Regions from separate parts of the Homo sapiens genome. Here regions 1, 2, 3, 4 and 6 are each linked to region 5. Evidence: promoter capture Hi-C in 16 types of primary human blood cells and fetal thymus (Javierre and others, 2016). All regions are on one chromosome and are shown on one strand. The core of a region is centred on a gene start or on the middle of the fragment in contact, and the rest is flanking DNA. Distances in the headings are between cores, read along the strand shown.

The links. Contacts are between HindIII fragments. The CHiCAGO score rates a contact against its expected background, and 5 or more counts as called.
Region 1: a contact is called between a fragment that was not itself captured here and the fragment with the promoter of CTPS2 in region 5, in 1 of 17 cell types (fetal thymus). The highest score is 6.2, in fetal thymus.
Region 2: a fragment that was not itself captured here is called in contact with the fragment with the promoter of CTPS2 in region 5 in 2 of 17 cell types (non-activated CD4 T cells and total CD8 T cells); the score reaches 5.7 in non-activated CD4 T cells.
Region 3: a contact is called between a fragment that was not itself captured here and the fragment with the promoter of CTPS2 in region 5, in 1 of 17 cell types (naive CD8 T cells). The highest score is 5.4, in naive CD8 T cells.
Region 4: a contact is called between a fragment that was not itself captured here and the fragment with the promoter of CTPS2 in region 5, in 1 of 17 cell types (naive CD8 T cells). The highest score is 8.1, in naive CD8 T cells.
Region 6: a contact is called between a fragment that was not itself captured here and the fragment with the promoter of CTPS2 in region 5, in 1 of 17 cell types (naive CD4 T cells). The highest score is 6.1, in naive CD4 T cells.

The regions. Positions count from the first base shown.
Region 1 is chrX:15,749,218-15,752,937 of GRCh38, reverse strand. CA5B (carbonic anhydrase 5B) reads right to left here. Exons shown (of 8, transcript NM_007220.4): 2 at 2,773-2,967. The coding sequence starts at 2,914. It overlaps CA5BP1-CA5B (CA5BP1-CA5B readthrough), which reads right to left. Exons shown (of 12, transcript NR_160544.1): 5 at 2,773-2,967. Among named protein-coding and RNA genes, the nearest start is that of CA5B, 13 kb to the right of the region's middle. RefSeq lists an enhancer at 1-74. The HindIII fragment of the contact is 3,634 bases long and covers 1-3,234 here.
Region 2 is chrX:15,733,892-15,737,397 of GRCh38, reverse strand. The region is part of intron 4 of CA5BP1-CA5B (CA5BP1-CA5B readthrough); the gene reads right to left. Among named protein-coding and RNA genes, the nearest start is that of CA5B, 2.6 kb to the left of the region's middle. The HindIII fragment of the contact is 3,678 bases long and covers 81-3,506 here.
Region 3 is chrX:15,715,080-15,718,539 of GRCh38, reverse strand. The region is part of intron 3 of CA5BP1-CA5B (CA5BP1-CA5B readthrough); the gene reads right to left. It overlaps LOC124905268 (small nucleolar RNA SNORA7), which reads right to left and starts at 2,332; the gene lies at 2,194-2,332. The HindIII fragment of the contact is 494 bases long and covers 1,358-1,851 here.
Region 4 is chrX:15,785,269-15,788,675 of GRCh38, reverse strand. It overlaps CA5B (carbonic anhydrase 5B), which reads right to left. Exons shown (of 8, transcript NM_007220.4): 8 at 265-3,407. It overlaps CA5BP1-CA5B (CA5BP1-CA5B readthrough), which reads right to left. Exons shown (of 12, transcript NR_160544.1): 12 at 265-3,407. It overlaps INE2 (inactivation escape 2), which reads left to right and starts at 1,087. Exons shown (of 1, transcript NR_002725.2): 1 at 1,087-2,960. The HindIII fragment of the contact is 701 bases long and covers 1,514-2,214 here.
Region 5 is chrX:16,710,734-16,714,244 of GRCh38, reverse strand. CTPS2 (CTP synthase 2) reads left to right here and starts at 1,576. Exons shown (of 19, transcript NM_175859.3): 1 at 1,576-1,910. RefSeq lists silencers at 1,704-1,793, 1,854-2,123. The HindIII fragment of the contact is 10,682 bases long and covers 1-2,938 here.
Region 6 is chrX:15,806,679-15,809,974 of GRCh38, reverse strand. It overlaps ZRSR2 (zinc finger CCCH-type, RNA binding motif and serine/arginine rich 2), which reads right to left. Exons shown (of 11, transcript NM_005089.4): 6 at 1,704-1,742; 7 at 657-775. Among named protein-coding and RNA genes, the nearest start is that of ZRSR2, 18 kb to the right of the region's middle. The HindIII fragment of the contact is 155 bases long and covers 1,741-1,895 here.

The DNA.
Region 1 (3,720 bases), core at 168-2,667, 960 kb after region 5:
GTTTGTCTAAAGACCTGGGATTGGTAGAAAGGGAATGTTCAGGTTAAGATAAAGATTGTGGAGATCAAAGTTCCTTTGAAGTCTTATAGTAGCTGCCCTTAGAGACAATAGATGAGAAATATTTCCTATTCAGATCTTAGTTAATCTCTTTAGGATTGGGAGGGTCTGGAAAAAAAAGATCTAGCTATGTTAACAGAGATTTTTTTTTTTTTTGAGACAGAGTCTCGCTCTGTCGCCCAGGCTGGAGTGCAGTGGCGCGATCTCGGCTCACTGCAAGCTCCGCCTCCCGGGTTCACGCCATTCTCATGCCTCAGCATCCTTAGTAGCTGGGACTGCAGGCGCCCACCACCACGCCTGGCTAATTTTCTGTATTTTTAGTAGAGACGGGGTTTCACCGTGTTAGCCAGGATAGTCTTGATCTCCTGACCTTGTGATCCGCCCGCCTCGGCCTCGCAAAGTGCTGAGATTACAGGCGTAAGCCATCGCGCCTGGCCCAGAGATTCTTTACAGATACAAATTTTCCCCCATGCAGAACAGCTTTGCAGGGCTATTTCAAAACATGGCAAAGAAACATGTTTTGGGGTAAAATATTTTGATTTTCTTCTTTGTCTTGTAATGTTATGCCAAAGTCAGCTTGGAAAGTAAATCACGATATATAGGGTTGAATAAAACCCATCTGGTGAGAATTTATGATTTGTGGGGCATGACTCCCCAGACCCCTTAGATAGGAATTTGGGCAAGATAAAAAAAAAATCAGAGTTTCGTCCTCACAATGTATACCTTACATGTATTGATTTATGTCTTGCGTGTAACTTCTGTCTCCCTAAACCATGCTGTAACCCAACCACCTTGGGCATGTGTTCTCAGGACCTCTTGAGGCTGTATCATGGGCCACAGTCACTCATATTTGGCTCAGAATGAACCTCTTCAAATATTTTAGAATTTGGCTTTTTTCATTAACACGTTATCTTTTCAAACCCTCAAGAATCTGGGGTCATTCTTGGTCACAAGTGTACATTGGCCTTCTGTTGGGGTATTGAGCTGTCAGAAACAATGAGAATTGTCTTTACAATTGAGCAGACGAGGGTCCAGAACATAGAAACAGGACCGGCTCGAAGGCCCAGAGCAGCAAAGACCACAATATTATTCTTGGGGCAAACAGGTTGGAACAGTATAATATGCTACAAACAAAATCAAATGGTGACTGTCCCCTGTTTTTCCTAGTAACTTAGAAACAAGAACATGTCATCTGTTGTGGGAAATTCACTAAGTAAAACTGCCCCTCCCGAAGCCACTACTGTTTGTTTTTTTTTGTCAGCACTAAAAGCAGCAAACTATCCTAACTACATACGTATACCGGATTTGGATGTTTAATTTCAACTGTCAAAAAAAAAAAAAGCAAAACTATTAATACTTTCCAATATAAACCATAGACCACAAAGTGCCAGTGTTCAGAATAAGCCAGTCTCAGTAGGATGTGGCATGTTTGTAGGAAACCACACCTAGCAACCAGAAATTTATTATGCCTCTGGTCCGTTTATTTGAAAAAGAACACAGTCAATGTTGAAGGAAACAAAATAAACTTACAGTGAAAATATATTTGTAGAGCAGTTTCAAGCCCTTGGATGTAGCTAGATTAGCATTACTAATTTACAAGCATTCCATTCTTACTCAGTCTTTTTATTATGTGCATATGGGGTCAAAGAAAATAAACACTAAAGGGGAGAAACCTAGACCTCAGTGCAGTCCAACATTTGAAAACTCTGTGCCAATGTTTTTTAAATAATGGAAAACATGAAAAATTCCTCCTTAATGATAATACTTAGCCATTTCATCTCTTCATTAACTCAAAGTTATCTGTTCACAAATACACACATTATCCTTTCCCATTCTCTCAACTGCCCTCTCTAGGGCAGTCACGCAGAGCATGTTTGGCAATGTCTGCAGACAGTTTTGGTTGTTATAGCTTCATGAGGGTGCTACTAGCAACTAGTAGGCAGAGGCCAGGAATGCTGCTAAAGACCCTCCAGGGCACAGGACAACCCCCTACAACACACAATGATCCATCCTCAATGTCCATCATGCCGCAGTGGAGAATCCCTGCCACATCCGGACATGGGCAATGCCTTGTATTTCCAGGAGGGGAACGAGATGAGAGAGGTGTGAGGAAGACCATTTCCTGCCTCACTCAATCTTCCATCCTTACAGCAGAGCACACACTTGCAAACTGATCAGCTAGAATTAATTCAGTAATTCCTAACTCAGGACAGAATATTCCAGAACGTTGAAGCTAGTAAACTGTTTACAAACATTTACATGCAACTTCCAGAAACTTAAGGTTCCCAGAAATAATTTGTGGTTTGTGGATCAACCTTTGTTTAAAAGAAAAAAAAAAAGACAATTGCTACCAAGAAATAATAAACAACAGGTTCCAAAATATTAAAAACCGGGATCTGTCTCTTGTCCAGTTTCTGCATGACATCATTTTAACATGCTAAAATTAGTCAAGAAAGAACATTCTACATTTACTTTCATGAATCAACAGAGAAACAGTTATTCTCACAGTTCATAAGGCATATAATCCTACACTGGAAAGCCAAAGACAGCATAGCTACAAATGTTTAACATGTGTGATTATTATAAAGATGAGTATTTTTGCTCTTGCACACTTGCTCCCTCTTTTCTTTTCTCTTTTTTTCTAAGAGATGAGATTTCACTCTGTCACTCAGGCTGGAGCCCTTTTTGTTCTCTTTAAGGAAGTGGTGTACTCACAGGCTCGGTTCCGGGTTTTGTAAGTACAAGTATAGAGGCTGCAGGGCCTCGCTGGCATGAATCTCGGAATCTGGAACTTTCTCCACAGCAATTTGCCTGGAGAGGCTTGAAGAATGACCCTCAGGCTGTTCATCACCACCATCTTTAGCTTGAAATCTTGATCAGTTCCCAGTTAAGTTGCAGGAACTTAATAATCTAGAGGGATGAGGGCAGAGGAGGGAAAGCTGTAAACAACAGAAACTTAAGATGATGGAGAAACCTCTAAGCAGGACAATATTCAGACTAGCAGTACACACCCTGAGGTGGAGGGAGGGAGGGCAGATGAGAGTCAACGGTTTATCCACTCTTGTTCCTCAAACTCATTGGTCCCCTCAGTGGAGGGCAGGGAGGGTCCTGAGGACTGACTCACATGCTTTGCCTTTCCCTCAGGGTTGGCGAATATTAGAAATCCAGAGAAAAGCTTCTCTTTATCCACAAGAATGAAAAACTGTTTACAGTACAGTTTCTTAAAAAAAAAAAAATTGCTCCAGGAAATCCCAATTAATTATCCAGCATGGTATTTACATGTACGAAGAACCCCAACATTAAAGCTCCCTCCAGGCTGACTAAAAACAAACATCTGCATCTAGATTGCATACAAAACAACAACAACAAAAAAACAAAAACAAAAACAAAACAAAAAACCCAAGATACATCCTGCCAAAATAGTCATGGACAGTTTTGAAATCTGAGCTTAAATATAATCTATGACTCTTTGCCAATTTTAGGTGTAACACAATGGCCCTTGAACATGGGAAAACAGACAAAGTTAATCCTGAATTCTCTCTCTACCTTTCACATGGTCACAGTCAAAGTCTCAGAAGATGAAGATGATGCTTTCCAAGGTATTCACTATGGTGTTCTGAAGTTATGGTAATATTAACTTTGAACACTTTCCCCACCACAATA
Region 2 (3,506 bases), core at 670-3,169, 980 kb after region 5:
ATAAATCTCTGACTCATTCATGCAAATTTCATTTATTGAGTACATGCTCCCCTGACAAACAAGACAAGCCTCAAGAAGCTTACAGTCTGAAGTTGCCCCAACTTGGGTTTGGATGAGAAAATTGGGGAAGATGTGGCAAAAGGTTAATAGGTGGAAAAGGAGTTGGTAATCTCAGGTCATTAGTAGGAATATTTGGGGGTAGTAAACATAGGAAGCCACTTTTATAGTATTTAGTACATTTCTTTACACAATAAATTATCAAAAAATCTTCACTGAATATCTACTCTTCCACATGTATAGAAATATATAATTTCCCCCCTTTGTAGAAGTAAAATTTGCTACTTATATTGCTTCATATGCCAACAATAAAGATTTTACTATCACACAGTTCTTTTTTCTTCTCCTCCCTTGCATTTCTGGCTTGAAGACAGTGAGAATATTCAAAATGTTGGGCTAGAAGGAACACAGAGAAAAGAACAACTTTCAACAGAACACTTTCATTATGCTCGCCCTGACCCTGAGAACTCTGCCTCATTTATAAAATGTTTCAACTGTCAGTCATTTTTTGCCTGAAAAATGAATTCACAGAAATTGGTCCAAATACAGTCTATATAAATTACTGAGTTTATTTTTATACAAGTAGTTCTACTTCACCTTCTTCCACAAATGATTTGAGGCAGCGTCCTAAAATATAGACATTAGTAGATTTAAAAATAGGGGAAGGAACCAGTGAAAGGAGAGCTTAATGGAAGGAGAATGATGTGGCCAATGATAAGATTAACATTTAAGTTTGCACTCCATCAGATCCAGAACAGTTGTCAGAAGTAGGCCAGAAATTTGACCCTAACTAAGCTGTTGAATAGCCATAGAAAAGAGGAAATAGCAATCATTTTTAGGTTTTTACTGTTCATAAGATAAAAACTGGCTTTTTTTCTTTTCCCTTTTTTTTTTTTTTTTTTTTGAGACAGAGTTTTGCACTTGTTGCCCAGGCTGGAGTGCAATGGCGCGATCTCAGCTCACTGCAACCTTCGGCCCTCAGGTTCAAGCGATTCTCCTGCCTCAGCCTCCTGAGTAGCTGGAATTACAGGCATGCACCATCATGCCCGGCTAATTTTGTATTTTTAGTAGAGATGGGGTTTCTCCATGTTGGTCAGGCTGGTCTTGAACTCCCGACCTCAGGTGATCCACCCGCCTCGGCCTCCCAAAGTGCTGGGATTACAGGTGTGAGCCACTGCACCCGGCCTTTTTTTTTTTTTTTTTTTTTTTAATGGAATTTCACTCTTGTTGCCCAGGCTGGAGTGCAATGGCATGATCTCGGCTCACTGCAACCTCTGCCTCCCGGGTTCAAGTGATTCTCCTGCCTCAGCCTCCCAAATAGCTGGGATTACAGGCGCCCGCCACCATGCCCAGCTAATTTTTGTATTTTTAGTAGAGACGGGGTTTCACCATGCTGGCCAGGCTGGTCTCGAACTCCTGGCCTCAGGTGATCCACTTGCCTCAGCCTCCCAAAGTGCTGGGATTACAGGCGGGAGCCACCGTGCCCGGCTGTTTTGTTTTTATAGAAGCAGTTTTTCTTGAATTTTAGTCCTGAGAGAAATACAGTTTCCTCATAAAGATGATGTAGTGAGCCTAGTGGGAACTATGTGTCATAAGGAGTGACACCCAAATCCCCTCAATGGAAACTGTTGGCACAATCACAAAGCACAGTGCATTAAATCAATTCTATGAATTGGCCAGGCATAGTGGCTCAGGCCTGTAATCCCAGTAGTTTGGGAGGCTGAGGCAGGAGGATTGCATGAGCCCACGAGTTAGAGACCGGCCTGGACAACATGGTGAAGCCCCATCTCTACAAAATTAGCTGAGTGTGGTGATGTATGCTTGTAGTCCCAGCTACTTGGGAGGCTGAAGTGAGAGGATCATCTGAGCCTAGGGAGGCTGAGGCTGCAGTGAGCCGTGATCACACCACGGCATTACAGCCTGGGCAACAGACTGAGACCCTGTATCAAAAAAAAAAAAAATTCCATGAACCATCAACATATTTCTGTTCACTTGAATACACAAGCCCTCAATGGTCTGGCTTAATCCAGGGTAGCATTTAGATCATCTTTCCCCAGGATGGCAAATAGGTTTCAACTCACATGTTAACTCTGAACTATTTGTAGTAGCTGCCTGAATAACTATGTTGAGAAGTTTGGGGGCTTTGTCCAGGCTCAGAAAGAAAAAGTTCTGTACTCAGTTAACAATGCTGTGGGTGCAGGATAGGTAAGTGGCTGCATGCAATAACCTACCTGGTACCTCTGCTTTGTAGAAATAGAGGTCTTGCATGCAGAACTTTGTGCAGTCACTCAAAATCAACAATTCTCGTGGCCAGGCGCAGCAGCTCATGCCTGTAATCCCAGCACTTTGGGAGGCTGAGGCGGGCAGATCACCTGAGGTCAGGAGTTTGAGACCAGCCTGACCAACCTGGAGAAACCCCATCTCTACGAAAAATAGAAGATTATCCAGGCATGGTGGCACATGCCTGTAATCCCAGCTACTAGGGAGGCTGAGGCAGGAGAATTGCTTGAACCTGGGAGGCAGAGGTTGCAGTGAGCCGAGATTGCACCATTGCACTCCCGGCTGGGCAACAACAGCGAAACTCCGTCTCAAAAATAAATAAATAAATAAATAATTTCTCACCACAGGGTTTTTGATAAATACCAGAGTGTAGAGAGTTCCAGGTCCCTTTCTCACTCTGATCCACCTATACTGGTCTTCCCATGTTCATTCCTGTCTCTGAACATTTTCTTTTGTTGTTCCCATTGTTTGGACCACTCTTTACTCGGATCTTTACATGGCTGGAGTTTTCTCATTATTCAGTACTTAGCTAAAATGTCACCTCTTTAGATATGTTTTTCCTGACAACCATATCTGAAGTTGTATCCAGAGCCTCTCAATCTGCACTGTGCCCAGAGATCACCCGAAGATCATGTTACAATGCAGACTCTGATGCAGTGGTTCCGCGATGTGACTTGAGATTCTAGATTTCAAGCATGCTGCCAGGAGATGCAATCCTGAGGTTCTATAAGACACTCTGAGGCTGGCACGGTGGCTCATGCCTATAATCCCAGCACTTTGGGAGACCGAGGCAGGCAGATCACCTGAGGTCAGGAGTTCGAGACTGGCCTGGCCAACATGGCGAAACACTGTCTCTACTAAAAATACAAAAATTAGCTAGGCGCGGTGGTGGGCACCTGTAATCTCAGCTACTCAGGAAGATGAGGCAGGAGAATCACTTGAACCCAGGAGGCGGAGGTTGCAGTGAGCCGAGATCACGCCATTGCACTCCAGCCTGGGTGAGAGCGAGACTTCGTCTCAAAACAAAACAAAACAAAACAAAACAAAAAGACACTTTGAGTAACAGCTTCACCTCTCCATCTCTATTACCTATTTTATTTTCTTCATAGTGTTTCTCAGTATTTGAAATTATTTGATTATTTGTTGGTTGGTTGTTTACTATAATGTAA
Region 3 (3,460 bases), core at 355-2,854, 1.0 Mb after region 5:
TTCTTTTGAGGTAGAGTCTGGAAAAAAACAACGAATCTGTAGATTTCCATAAATAACTGACAGGAGACAGGTGACTTCTATGAAAATATTAACCCAAATGATGGGTGTTAATCATTAAACCTTTTAGGTGGTGGCTTTGTTCTTTTTCTGATATTTTAATCTGGGTCACAGAATGGCTCAGGCAGCTTTAAGTGCAGAGTGGGTTTTTCTTCCTTTTTTGTTTGCCTTTTGTTTTCTATTCCAAAAGGATGTTGTGACCTCTTTTCCTGGTAACTGCTATTCTTCCCTCCCTCCCTCCCTCCCTCCCTCCCTCTCTCTCTCTCTCTCTTTCTTTCGAGATGAAGTTTCACTCTGTGGCCCAGGCTGGAGTGCAGTGATGAGATCGTGTTCAAGCAATTCTCCAGCCTCAAACTCCCAAGTAGCTGGGATTACAGGCGCCCGCCACCACGCCCGGCTAATTTTTGTGTTTTTAGTGGAGACAGGGTTTCACCATGTTGGGCAGGCTGGTCTCGAACTCCTGACCTCAAGTGATCCACCTCCCAAAGTGTTGGGATTACAGGCATGAGTCACCGTGCCTGGCCAGAAATTGCTATTCAGGTGGAACTCTGTCAACCAGGTAGTTAGCCTTGAAACTTAAAAATACATTAACATGGGCCAGTAAGAGAAAAGGCTGGACAATAACCACTGTCAAAACAGCAATAAAAATAATATTAAAAAACAGCAATAAACAACCTAATTTTGCATCCAGCTCTGTTCCAAGCAAAAATAAAAAAAATAAACAAAAACAAACCAGTTTTCTGTTGAGTGCATCTTTGATTTAAAGGACTTGTTATTTCTCTAAATTTGCAGATGTGTTGAGGCTTGAAATTTGAGCCTGTGACTGTTTTATGAGTTTCAACAGAAAATATTAAACCACCTAAAATGACAGAGGGTAAACTTTCAGTAAATAATTTGGAGCCATTCAGTTGTAGATCTGTTTTTTGTTCATTCCAGTTGCATAAAATATTAGGAATCACTGGGCTCTGTTTGACACATTTTGTCATTATTACCACTCTTTCGAGTGCTCAATAGCCATCTATGTGTAGTGGCTGCCATATACAGACACAGAACATTCCCATCATCACAGAATGTCCCATTGGACAACGCTGTTCTATAGCATTAACTTTGATTTTCACAGCTGCCAGATTTTTGGGTTGATCAAAACCAACCCCTTTGCAAGAAAATGCTTTTAGAGTGAGACAGAGCAGCTCTGGCAACTAAAACGGTAAGTGAAGTACCTGAGTGTTCATTTTGAAAAAATTGCTTTCTAATAACACTTTCTTTATTGCTGGGCCCTTCTGCATAGTTATCTTAAGCTTGAGTAAATCATTCCTAAAGACCTCATTCCAATGTTTTATTAAAGCAATAATAGACTAAAATGGAAATTGTTAATAAAATGGTTTTTATTAAAGTATTTATAGTACATGCTAGAAGTATGAACTGATGACACAACTAGTATGTGTCACTTGGCCTGTGAAACCATATGTGGGATATAAAGATATGTTCAATTATATACATTTATTGAGCACCTATTATGTGTCAGATACATGCACAACAGGTGGCTAAACTGCTATGGACCTTCTTGTACGTGTTTTTTCTGTATGCTTTTTCTTGGGTATTTACTTAGGAATAGAAATTTGGGTCACAGAGTATACATATGTTGAGAGCTATTATCTCTTTCCTTATCCTCTTGTGAGTTGTACACCTTCTCATTAGTATATATGCTCAATTTCACTTATGCATGGAGGCTCTTTCTTTGAAATGTTTTGAATGCCCTAGGAGAAGTATGCTATGTATTTCAATGAACAAGCTTTCAATCTGTTCACACTTGCCCAGGATAAGTTGGTTCCACTGGCAGGATACCCAACCCAATCTAGAACTACATCAATCCTGTTCTGATCTAAATAGCTTGGGGCTTTCTTTTGTGACCAAAACTGGACCCCTACCCAGCCAGCTCAAGCTCTTGGTTTTAAGAGGAATCAATGAAAGGACAGATCAGGTTAAATCATCCTCAAGATCTGAAAAACAATTTAAGTATGTGTTCTGGTGAGAGTTGGCTAGCATCTTCATTTTAAAAAATACTGTATTTCTCTTTTTCTCAGACCCATGTTAAAGAAGAATCATGGAAGGAGGGTTTCCTGTCCAGGGATTGAACACTGTTGCAGAGTTTCTTCCAATCACCAGCTACTGAGCAAGCTGGGAATGAAATGGGTACCTCTGCCAGATTTGCTTTTCATCCAGTTTCCAAAGCTGGCAGAATACTATCCACTTCCAGATGCCATCCTGGGAGGTAGGATCTTCATTTTTATCTGCTGCTCTGAGCTTATCATTGTTATCTACACTTGAACAGGCTCATTCATCATCTCTACATTGTGTTAATAAGCCTTCCCTATCTTTACAGCATGTACCAACTCTTAATCAACAATAGTCTTTCTTGATTTTCAAGTTTGTAGATTAGAGGTCTTTGTGTGCTTCTGCTACTTAAGCAGGGAAAGGCACCAAGGGGATAGTGAAACTCAAATTTATTTTTCCTTATATTTATGAAAATAACTTTGAGGAAAGAGAATCCTAAAATTCTTCACCGAAATGAGGATTTGGATTTTATTTGTATTTCAGCAAGTTATTCTTTTCCTATCTGAAGTTATATTACAGATAGTACAAGGGAACATCTAAAGCCAGTTCTTCCTTCATGCCCAAGGGAGTTGTTTCACTGCAATGTAAATTAGTTTGAAATCCATCCTGGCTGGGCACAGTGGCTCACACCTGTAATCCTAACACTTTGGGAGGCTGAGGTGGAAGGATAACTTGAAACCAAGAATTCAATACCAGTCTGAGTACAAAGTGAGACCCCGTCTCTACAAAACATTTTTAAAAAATTAATTGGGCACGGTGGTGTGTACCTGTTGTCCCACCTACTTGGGAGGCTGAGTAGGAAGAATCACTTGAGTCCAGGAGTTCAAGGCAGCAGTGACCTATGATCATATCACTGCACTCCAGCCTGGGTGACATAGAAAAACCCTGTCTCAAAAAAAAAAAAAAAATTCCATCCTATGAGCAAAATAGCCATTAATGATATATGAAACATTCCTTCTAGTTTTCAGTAGTCAATGAGAAAGCCTACCCTCACAGACAGTGGTGGCTTCAAATTTTCTTTGTTGATGGGTGGAGAGATTATACGGGACTTGTGTTGAAACTACATTTTGGCAGCAAGCTCCCCTTTCACTGAGATCTCACATTTATATGGAGTGCCTATGAGAGAAGTACTGATGGAACTTGTCATGGGCTAAATTCTCCCCAAACCATCCCCTGGGGCCACCACTGTCTACATACTTGCACCTTTACTTGTGTGTAGTTGCATGAAAAAGTAGCAGCCAACTGCATAGGTCACAGTGACATAAAAGATGGCTGTTAGGCCCACGGT
Region 4 (3,407 bases), core at 615-3,114, 930 kb after region 5:
CAAATTAAAGTTTCTGAGATACTCAATTACTAAACTGCCTTCCTTCCCCTAATCCCTCCTTAGAATTACTCAGCTGAAGCCCAAACTCTGCATAAAACCTCACCCTAATCTCTCTTATACTGACACACTTGGAGCAACACATATGCCCTTCACCCCCAAGTTGACCTTGTCCAGCTCAGTGCATTGGTTGGCTGTGATCTTGAGTAAATTCCTTAATGTCTACTCCTGTTTTCTCATTTGTAAAAATCAAGATAGTAATAATAGTTCCCATCTCATAACCCTTTTATTGTGAAAACTGAGTAAGATAAGCCATGTTATATGCTGATACAGTGCCTAGCAATAGTGAATGCCTCCAAAACTTTAGCTGTTACATCATCTCATCACCATCATCATTAGTGTGAAAACTTCCTGACCCCTCAAGAGGGGATGAGGCGCTGTATGCATTTCCAGTACAAGTATTCCACCTTTTATAACATCTATCATGGTTTACTACACATTGTCACCTTTACCTTTCTGCTTCTTGACTAAATCTTAAACTAAACTCTCTAGTTGGAGGTTTGGCAGTTGTATCCCCAAACTAGAGTGCCCTGGATGGCACAGAATGTTGTAGCTATGCAACTCACCAATTTTGCTGGTCCCTGTGATCAGAATTTACGCTGAGAATTGCTGCCCGTTCTGAAAGCATCAGTGTTTAAGTTGTTGTAACATTTCTTCTGAATCAGACCAGACTTTCACTTCAGAACAATAAGTAACAATTCCTTCTAAGAAATCTCGGCTCACTGCAACCTCCGCCTCCTGGGCTCAAGCGATTCTTCTGCCTCAGCCTCCTGCGTAGCTGGGATTACAGGTGCATGCCACAACCACCTGGCTAATTTTTGTATTTTTTAGTAGAGACGGGGTTTCACCATATTGGCCAGGCTGTTCTCGAACTCTTGACCTCCGGTAATCTGCCCGCCTCGGCCTCCCAAAATGCTGGGATTACAGGCATGAGCCACCGCACCCGGCCATAGATTTTTTAGTGAGTTAGAAATGAATGTAAATTTCCTTTTATAGGAGTTAGACATTTATTTTTAACAATTAACCACTGAATTCATTTTCAGAAATAGGCCTGAATTGCTTGTTAATTTCATTACAGGAAGTAACTCTAAAAGCCAATTCCACTTCCAAACTATAATTACCATCATCTGAATTTAACAGGGAAAGACATCTTCCAAGACTTCTTTTGGGCGGATGCTTAGTTTTAGAATAGCCAACTTTACCCTAACCCATGTACAAGACAGTTCTCCAGGTGGCCTTGGACTGACCCAGTTCTCCCTTCTTCCTTGCTTGTAGTTCTTAAGAATAACTGTAGAATGCACTGGGAATGCAATATCCTGATATGGAGGAACTGCCTGAAACAGGTTGGCCTTGTTGTTGTCCCTCCTAGGGAATGTAACATCTTGATTTAGGGAACTGTTTGAGACAGCGAGGTTGTGTTCCTCTTTCCCCTGGAAGGAGGATGTACTTTAAAGCTTTGCCCAATGAGTTATGTGGCTCCTATGGTATATAACCCAAGGCAGGCTGTGGTGCAAGTGGGGCACGTACAATCAAGACTCCATCAGCCCCGCCCTGGGCAGCTTTCTTGAGCCCTGGGGGACTGGCTCACAATGGAGCCAGGGCCTCTTTTGTCCCTTGCTTCCTGTCTGTAAGTAATAAATCTGCTTCATGTAATGTATTGGGTGTGAGTGTGTTCTGTCACAATGGAATCAGACAGGTTGGTAACCAGTGTACACTGAACCTGCTTGGCACCATGTAGCCCTGGGAAAGGAGAAAGGCGGTCACAGCTTGCCCTATATGGTGATGCCAGCACACTGTGCACTGTACTGTGCAACAGAAAAAGGTGCACTGAGGAGGATCGGCTGCTTCTTCCCATTGTTGCTTCTTTAGTAAATCCCCTATGAGTTTTTAGTCGCTTTCTAATCTACAAGTTAAAGGATATCTCATTAATTTTACAGATATATACATATACTGTAACAATAGGAAGGAAGTCTTTCACCAACCACTAATACTGTAAAGAAAGCATTGTATCGATCTAGTATTATTTAATGAAGACGGACAGCAATTTTAATACAATCTTCTTTTCCAAGACCTTTGACAGACCTTAGGCCCATTTTCCACCTTTATGTCTAGGAAAGTATAAGTAAAACACTTTTGAGGGCATAAAAAACACAAGCTTCTTGTTAAGGTGTATCAGTAGCCAGGGAAATCTGCTGTGCCCCTTTGAGGGTCATCTAACTAAGGCATGGAGAAAGAAACTGCCTCAAGTCAGTTTCTATCACCTCTGCAGGGAAGCTGGCCATGCAAACCAGGACATGGTTCAAAGTGAAAAAGAGTGTGGTTAATAATCATGCCAGAACACCAGGTATAAGATGTAAGGGCAAGTCAGGCATTCTGTACATTGCTTCTCCCTTCAGTTTGGAAAACTCACTGCAGTAGGGTTTTGACTTATCGTTTCACAAGACAGCTAGGAAGGCCAGGCACAGTGGCTCACACCTGTAATCCCAGCACTTTGGGAGGCCAAGACGGGTGGATCACGAGGTCAGATCGAGACCATCCTGGTTAACACGGTGAAACCCTGTCTCTACTTAAAATACAAAAAATAGCCGGGTGTGGTGGCGGGCGCCTGTAGTCCCAGCTACTCAGGAGGCTGAGGCAGGAGAATGGCGTGAACCCGGGAGGCGGAGCTTGCAGTGAGCCGAGATCGCGCCACTGCACTCCAGCCCGGGTGACAGCGCGACTCTGTCTCAAAAAAATAAAAAAAATAAAAAAAAATAAAAAACAAGACAGCTAGGAGGAAAGCCTGTATGCTTTGGAAAATGCATATCTTGTGTGTTTACCCTTTTAAAGGTAACTATACTTTGAAACAGGTGAACTGCAGAAAGTTAACAAAGACTTCTTTTTTTACCATGTTTACCTTTCTAAGAATTCTATGCATTTCCTAGGGCATACATGCAAAAGCCTTCACATTTCCCCCTTTTTAAAAGAGATATTTCTCAAACTTATACGTATACAGTTCAGTAGTGTTAAGTACAATCACACTTGTTTTGCAACAGATCTCTAGAATTCTTGCAACACAAGCTCTGTACCCACTAAATACAAATTCACCCTCTCCCCTTCCCCCAACCGTTGCTTGGCAACCACCTTTCTACTTTCTATTGTATGATTTTGACTACTTTGCATACTTCACATGGAGGAATCATATAGCATTTGTTCTTTTGTTGGCTGGCTTATTTCACTTGGCATAATGCCTTCAAGGTTCATCCACATTGTACATTTGACAGGATTTCCTTCTTTTTAAAGGCTGAATAATATTCCATTGACTGTATATACCACATTTCCTTTATCTATTCATCTGTTGATGGACATTT
Region 5 (3,511 bases), core at 327-2,826:
TATCCATTTGAAGGCCTGAACTCCAGCACCACACTCTCTGCTGCCAGTTTGCCAGTCCTCTCCTCAGAGGCCCTGGCCTTGGAGCCCTTCTCTCATCTGTCTCCCAGTCCATCAGCTCCCCGCTGGTTTTATTAACAGTTCCTGTCCTCTAGGACTAGAGCTCTGGCCCATCACTGCAATCGCAGTCTTTCTGTGCCCTCCACCTCCTCACCCTCTTGTCCTTCTATTCTATGCAAGCAGGAAACTTGGGTTTCATAACTAAGAGCTATATTTCTGTAGATACCTTGCCAGATTATAGCAGATTATAGCTGGACACCACTACACGATGATGGTTTCTAAACTCCACTAGGTCTTCAGTGACTCTTGTCTAACTTGTCGCTCTAGCATCTCACACTGGTTATGCGAAATTTCCACCACTTTCCTAAAACCTTCCATCTCACTTCAGACCCTTCTGTTGTCCATGTTAGCTTCCTTCAGTGGTTGGCTTCTTGCCTTCACCCGAAAAACCTCCTGTATCCGTTCCCAGCACCAATCATCCTCCAATACTCTTTTTTTTTTTTTTTTTTGAGACAAAGTCTCCTCTGTCACCCAGGCTGGAGTGCAGTGGCCTGATCTCGGCTCACTGCAACCTCTGCCTCCCAGGTTCAAGCGATTCTCTCTGCCTCAGCCTTCGGAGTAGGTGGGATTACAGGCAGGTGCCACCACACCTGGCTAATTTTGCATTTTTAGTAGAGACAGGGTTACACCACGTTGGCCAGGCTGGTCTCGAACTCCCGACCTCAGGTGATCCGCCTGCCTTGGCCTCCCAAAGTGCTGGGATTACAGGCGTGAGTCACCCGAAGAGTGACTTTTTAGAGTATTTGGGCGGGGTGCAGTGGCTCAAGCCTGTAATCCCAGCATTTTGGGAGGCAAGGCAGGAGGATCAGCTGAGGTCGGGAGTTCGAGACCAGCCTGGCCAACGTGATGTAACCCCGTTTCTGTTAAAAATGCAAAATTAGCCGAGCTTTTTGGCATCCGCCTGTAATCCCAGCTACTCCGGGGGCTGAGGCAGGGACAATCGCTTGAACCCGGGAGGCGGAGGTTGCAGTGAGCCCAGATCGCGCCATTGCACTCCAGCCTGGGCAAAAAGGGCGAACGAAACTCCGTCTCAAAAAAAAAAAAAAAAAAAAAGTCACTCTTGGAAGCCTTAATTGCCTTCCTCCCCTCACTGCACCCCCGCAACTCTTTGCTGCAGAAGTATTGTTCTAGGGAACCTTACTGGTTCCAACAGACGGGTGGACCTCCCACCAGACTGTGAGCTAGCTCCTCAAAGGCAGGCATTCTCTTTCCTTTTCCTTCTCTCCTGAGCGCTCCTGCAGTTCCTGGGGCGTAGTAGGGGATCCACAAGCGTTTGTGACCAGTGAAGTTCTTTACAAGGGTGAGATCTGCACGGGAGGACCCGAGCGAGGGTCTCGGCTTGCCAGGAAGCCGGGGTTCCCCGGGAAGCGTGGAGTTCACCCGCGCACTCGAAGTGCCTTTGCAAAGTGAGCCACGGGAGGGAGGAGCGGTCCCCGGGCTGGGCGAGGCCTGGGGCCCAGTGCGTCCAGAGCGGAGGGTGACGGGAGCTGCCTGTGCTGGAGGAATCACTTTTTAGGCGCTTGTTTTGGACCATTGCACAAACCCGGGTGCAAACCCCAAGCTCACCAGCGTGAGTGAGCTGGGCCAGCAGCAGGGAGGAGAGGGGAAGGTGGGCGAGGAGGGCGCCGCGCACCCCGAGGCCCGTGTGGGCGGTGGGAAGATCCCGGGGGCGGCTTTGGACAGCCCCGGCAGCGACCCCTTCCCCAGCCCGACAGGTGAGCGCCAGGCCAGCCGCGGGGTGGAGCCCGCCGTGCCCACCGGCCACCCTCCCCGGTGCTACCACCACCGCGCAGGTAACTTCCCTTCTGGGCCTGTCCCAGACCCCCAGGGCCTCGGCGCCCGGGCCATCCCTCGTCCCCAGGGCCTCTCCGCCCTGCACCCCCAGCCCCGGTGCACTTGTGGGGCCGGGCTCCTTTGTCCGCTCTCTGATGGCGCCGGCTCCCTGCCCAGCGCTGAGTCGGGTCCGGCCGCCAGCCCCGCGCTCGCAGACCTCGGCTGCCGGGTGTGGCGCGGGGACTGGGGAACGCTGGCCCGTGCCCAGTGCGGTTGGAGCCTGTCCCGCGCGTCCCCGGGACGCGCTTCTTCCCGCCTCCGCCCGCGCCAGCGCCCGCACCCGGATCCCCACTTCTCCCGGCCCTCGGGAGCCAGGAGAGCCCTGAGATGGCGTTGGCGGAAGTGAAGCCCCGAGCGGGGGTCTGCGAGGCTGGTGATCAGCGCCGGTAACATGGCCTTTCTGTCCTCTCCCCGGTCCCAGTGCACCCCTTAAACAACGACCCCCGCGTTTTCCCCGTACTAGATGGTTAGGGCGCATAGTGCCGAACTACGCTGCTGCTACAGAATAGCTTTTTTGGGGGCAACATAAAAAAGAATTGTATGTATGGTTTATATACAACAAAATGTCCCATTTTCAGTGTGCAAATCGACGGGATTTGACAAATTATACACTCCTGTAACCATTATCCCAAAGTGAACATTGACCATTTCCTTCACCCTGCAAAGTTCCCTGGTACCTCCTTTCTGTCAATCCACCCCAGGCCCCGCACTCAACCCCGGTTCTGATTGTTATCATAGCTTAGCTTTGACTGTTCTAGAACTTCATAGAACAAGATCATCAGGTAAGTACTCTTTTGTGTCTAACATTACTTTTTAAATGGCCATCACTGAGAAGGTGTCTCTGGGTGCTTCCGGTGCTTTTATTTGCTCTAGGCCTGCCTGGTCTAATGTGGGAGCCACTGGTCACATGTGGTTATTGAATACTGGAAATGTGGCAAAATCCGTACTGAGATGTGCTCTGAGTACAGGCACCTGATTTCTGAAAGCTTAGTACACAAAAAAGATGTCAAATATCTCACTAATACATTCTTACATTGTGCGTTAAAAGTGATAACATTTTTGGCTACATTGGGTTAAATAACATATATTAACATGAACTTCATTTGATTCTTTTTACTTTTTTAATATGGCTACTAGAAACTTAAAATTACGTACCTGGCTGTGTAATATTTTTTATTAGGTAGTGGAGACAGCACAGCTCTACACTGTGCTATCCTATAAACACTTGGTTCTGCTCACTGCATGTAAGAGTAAATGAAAAACTTGTCTTGACACCAGAAACAATCCTCAATGGAGGAAGTGATCTAAAACAGGGCCAGCCTTTCCCTGAACCTTTGAAACTTTGTTAAACTTACTTGTGTGCTTAAAAGAAGTAGAGGGCCGGGCATGGTGGCTCATGCCTGTAATCCCAGCACTTTGGGAGGCCGAGGTGGGCGGATCACGAGGTCAAGAGATCAAGACCATCCTGGACAACATGGTGAAACCCTGTCTCTACTAAAGATACAAAAATTAGCTGGGAATGGTGGCATGCACCTGTAGTCCCAGCTACTTGGGAGGCTGA
Region 6 (3,296 bases), core at 569-3,068, 900 kb after region 5:
AACTGGCAGCCACTGAAGCCCGTTTTGAACCCAACGGTCTGTACCTGAGTCTGGGCACACTCACTGACAACAGAAATTAAAACACTTTTCCTCTCCTCATTTGGATCCTGTCTTTCACAGATATCCCTTTACACATGCCAAGTTTTGTTTTTTTTTTTCTTTTTTGAGACAGGGTCTTGTTTTGTCACCCAGGCTGGAGTGCAGTGGTGTGGTCATAGCTTACTGCAGCCTGGAACTCCTGGCACATGCCAAGTTTTAAAAGCCTGTTTTGGGGACAGTGTGTGCCCTTCAAAAAATAAAGCCAAGCTGCTCTAAGCTCTTCAAATATATTATTTCCCCAACCCAGTTGTCCACCATGGACTAATGCAAGCTCAGGAAGAAACCAACAAGCAAAGTGGCTTCCTAAAGATGCAGAATGCAAAGGAAGCACCCTCAGAGAACTAGGCTAAGCCCACCCAGGGAACAAGGATAGAGGGAACAGGGATGGTCAAAGCAGAGGATGATCAGCTGGGAAAACGAGAGCAGCAGCAAGAAGGCAGCAGATGTCTGATGACGGACATTTGAAATGGAAACATGCGCCTCTCCCAAAAGGGGAACTCAAAAACGTCAGCATTTTGAATCACTTCATTCTGACATGATAAAACAAAATTAGTTACCTATCTCCAAATCTGCAAGCTCCTGTTTTACTGTAGAAGGGACAATTAGCTCGATCCTTCTCCATTACTCTGAAATCCACGGGTGGTTCTGGGTTTTGCCATGTGGTACCATTTTCCAACTGTTGAAAATAACCATGACTTTACTGGTGGAGTAAAAACCCATGAAAGACGAAATGTTTCAAAGTATATTAAAATATTTTCCTCAAAGATAAACATTGTTTCATTTAATAATGCAAACATTTAAGTTGGAACAGGCAATCAAGACTTTACAAACAACGGTACTGAGACATGAGCTCCATGTCTCTCTTGGCTCCTGGTCACTTTCCTTTATCTGGTATCACTACTGCCACCAGGGGCAGTCGCCAAGGTTTCCATCCATTCTAAAAAGGGTCCAAGAAGGCCGGGTGCAGTGGCTCACGCCTGTAATCCCAGCACTTTGGGAGGCCGAGGTGGGTGGATCACCTGAGATCAGGAGTTCAAGACCAGCCTGACCAACATGGAGAAACCCCATCTCTACTAAAAATATAAAATTAGCTGGGCGTGGTGGTGCACACCTATAATCCCAGCTACTTGGGAGGCTGGGGCAGGAGAGTTGCTTGAACCCGGGAGGCGGAGGTTGCAGTGAGCCGAGATCATACCACTGTACTCCAGCCTGGGCAACAAGAGCAAAACTCCGTCTCAAAAAAAAAAAAAAGAAAAAAAGAGAAAAAAAAGGGTCCAAGAACTTATTAGGGAACCACCACAGACAGAAATAGAAGTTACTCTGATTCAAGGTAAACCGTCCACTGGAGGCTAACGGTATGTGATGTTGCTTAAACATACTGTAAGGACTCTAAACAGGTCCAGTCCACAGGGGTCATGAATACCATTTGTATTTGTTCATCAATAAAGTTTGTTGTTGTTGTATAAATCAAAGCATCATAAACATGAGTCCAGATATCCAAACATGATCTAACTAACCTACCACGAAACTAACATTACTGGAACTATTATTTCTAAGGAAACATTAATTGGTCTCAAATTATCAATGTAAGGTTTTAAAAATACCTCATTTTCAGCCTGATCCAGCATCTTCTGCAAAGCTTCCTAAAATGGTGCAAACACAGGACTAATAAAAACCCAGAAGTCAGGTAAGTCACATCTGGTTTCTCTGGTTAAGAATCTCAAGTGGAACAATTAAAACACACACACGCACACAAGTTCTAGTTTTCTTTTGAATCACAGATCTTTTGAAAAGCTTTCAAAGGATATATAGCTGAGACTTTTCTCTTTTTTTTTTGAGACAGGGTCTCACTCTGTCACCCAGGCTGGAGTGCAGTGGCGTGACCTCAGCTCACTGCAACCTCCGCCTCCCAGGCTCAAGTGATCCTCCCACCTCAGCCTTCCGAGTAGCTAGGACTACAGGCGCACACCACCACGCCTGGATAACTTTTGTATTTTCTGTAGAGACGGAGTTTCACCATGTTGCCCAGGCTAGTCTCGAACTCCTGAGCTCAAGCAATCCACCCGCCTCAGCCTCCCAAAGTGCTGGGATTACAGGCATGAGCTACCGTGCCCGGCCCATAGCTGAGACGTTCTATTCAAATAGAAAATTTACCAGATCACATTGCAAAATATTTAAAATAGTCTTATAATAGTTTCAATAATAGTAATACTTAGTATATTTGAGTATATATACCATGTCCTAGTTCGTAAAAGGGGGTATTAGTGAATATAAAACACAATGCTAGGCCGGGCATGGTGGCTCACACCTATAATCCTAGCACTTTGGGAGGCTGAGGCGGGTGGATCACTTGAGGTCAGGAGTTCTAGACCAGCCTGGCCAAGACGGTGAAACCCCGTCACTACTAAAAATACAAAAATTAGCCAGGTGTGGTGGCACGTGCCTGTAATCCCAGCTACTTGGGAGGCTGAGACAGGAGAATCGCTTGAACCCAGGAGGCAGAGGTTGCAGTGAGCCGAGATGACGCCACTGCACTCCAGCCTAGGCGACAGAGCAAGACTCTGTCTAAAAAAAAACGAACAAACAAACAAACGAAAAAACCCAAAAAACAATGCTAGATGAAATCATAAACATTTAGCAGAAGCTAAAATATGACATGACCAGTGGTAATTAGCATTTAGGAGAAAATTCTAACTTTTTAATAAGGCAAAGGAGGTTCTGCAATATGCCAGTAAATTTCTACCTAATTGGCATTTGAACAAGTTGTACCTATGTTTAACAGACAGTCTTATCTTCCCTAGCCCCTTAAAGCATTACATAAGACTCGTATGTCTAGTTGCTTATTTGTGGTGCTCAAAACAGAACTCTTGTCCTCTACACTCCCTGGCCCACATCCACCTGAATGCTCCCTCAGTGAATAGTGTTGCCAGTCTATCTGTCTATTCAAACTAAAAACCTAAAAATATGACTTGAATTCCTCTCTCTCTCCTTGTCCTCTGGTCAACATGGTGAAACCCTGTCTGTACTAAAAACACAAAAAATTAGCCGGGTGTGGTGATGGGCGCCTGTAGTCCCAGCTACTCAGGAGGCTGAGGCAGAAGAATCGCTTGAACCCGGGAGGCAGAGGTTTCAGTAAAGTAAAAATGATCTGTTAAAAAAGTCTGGTGCAGTGGTTCACACGAGCACTTTGGGAGGCC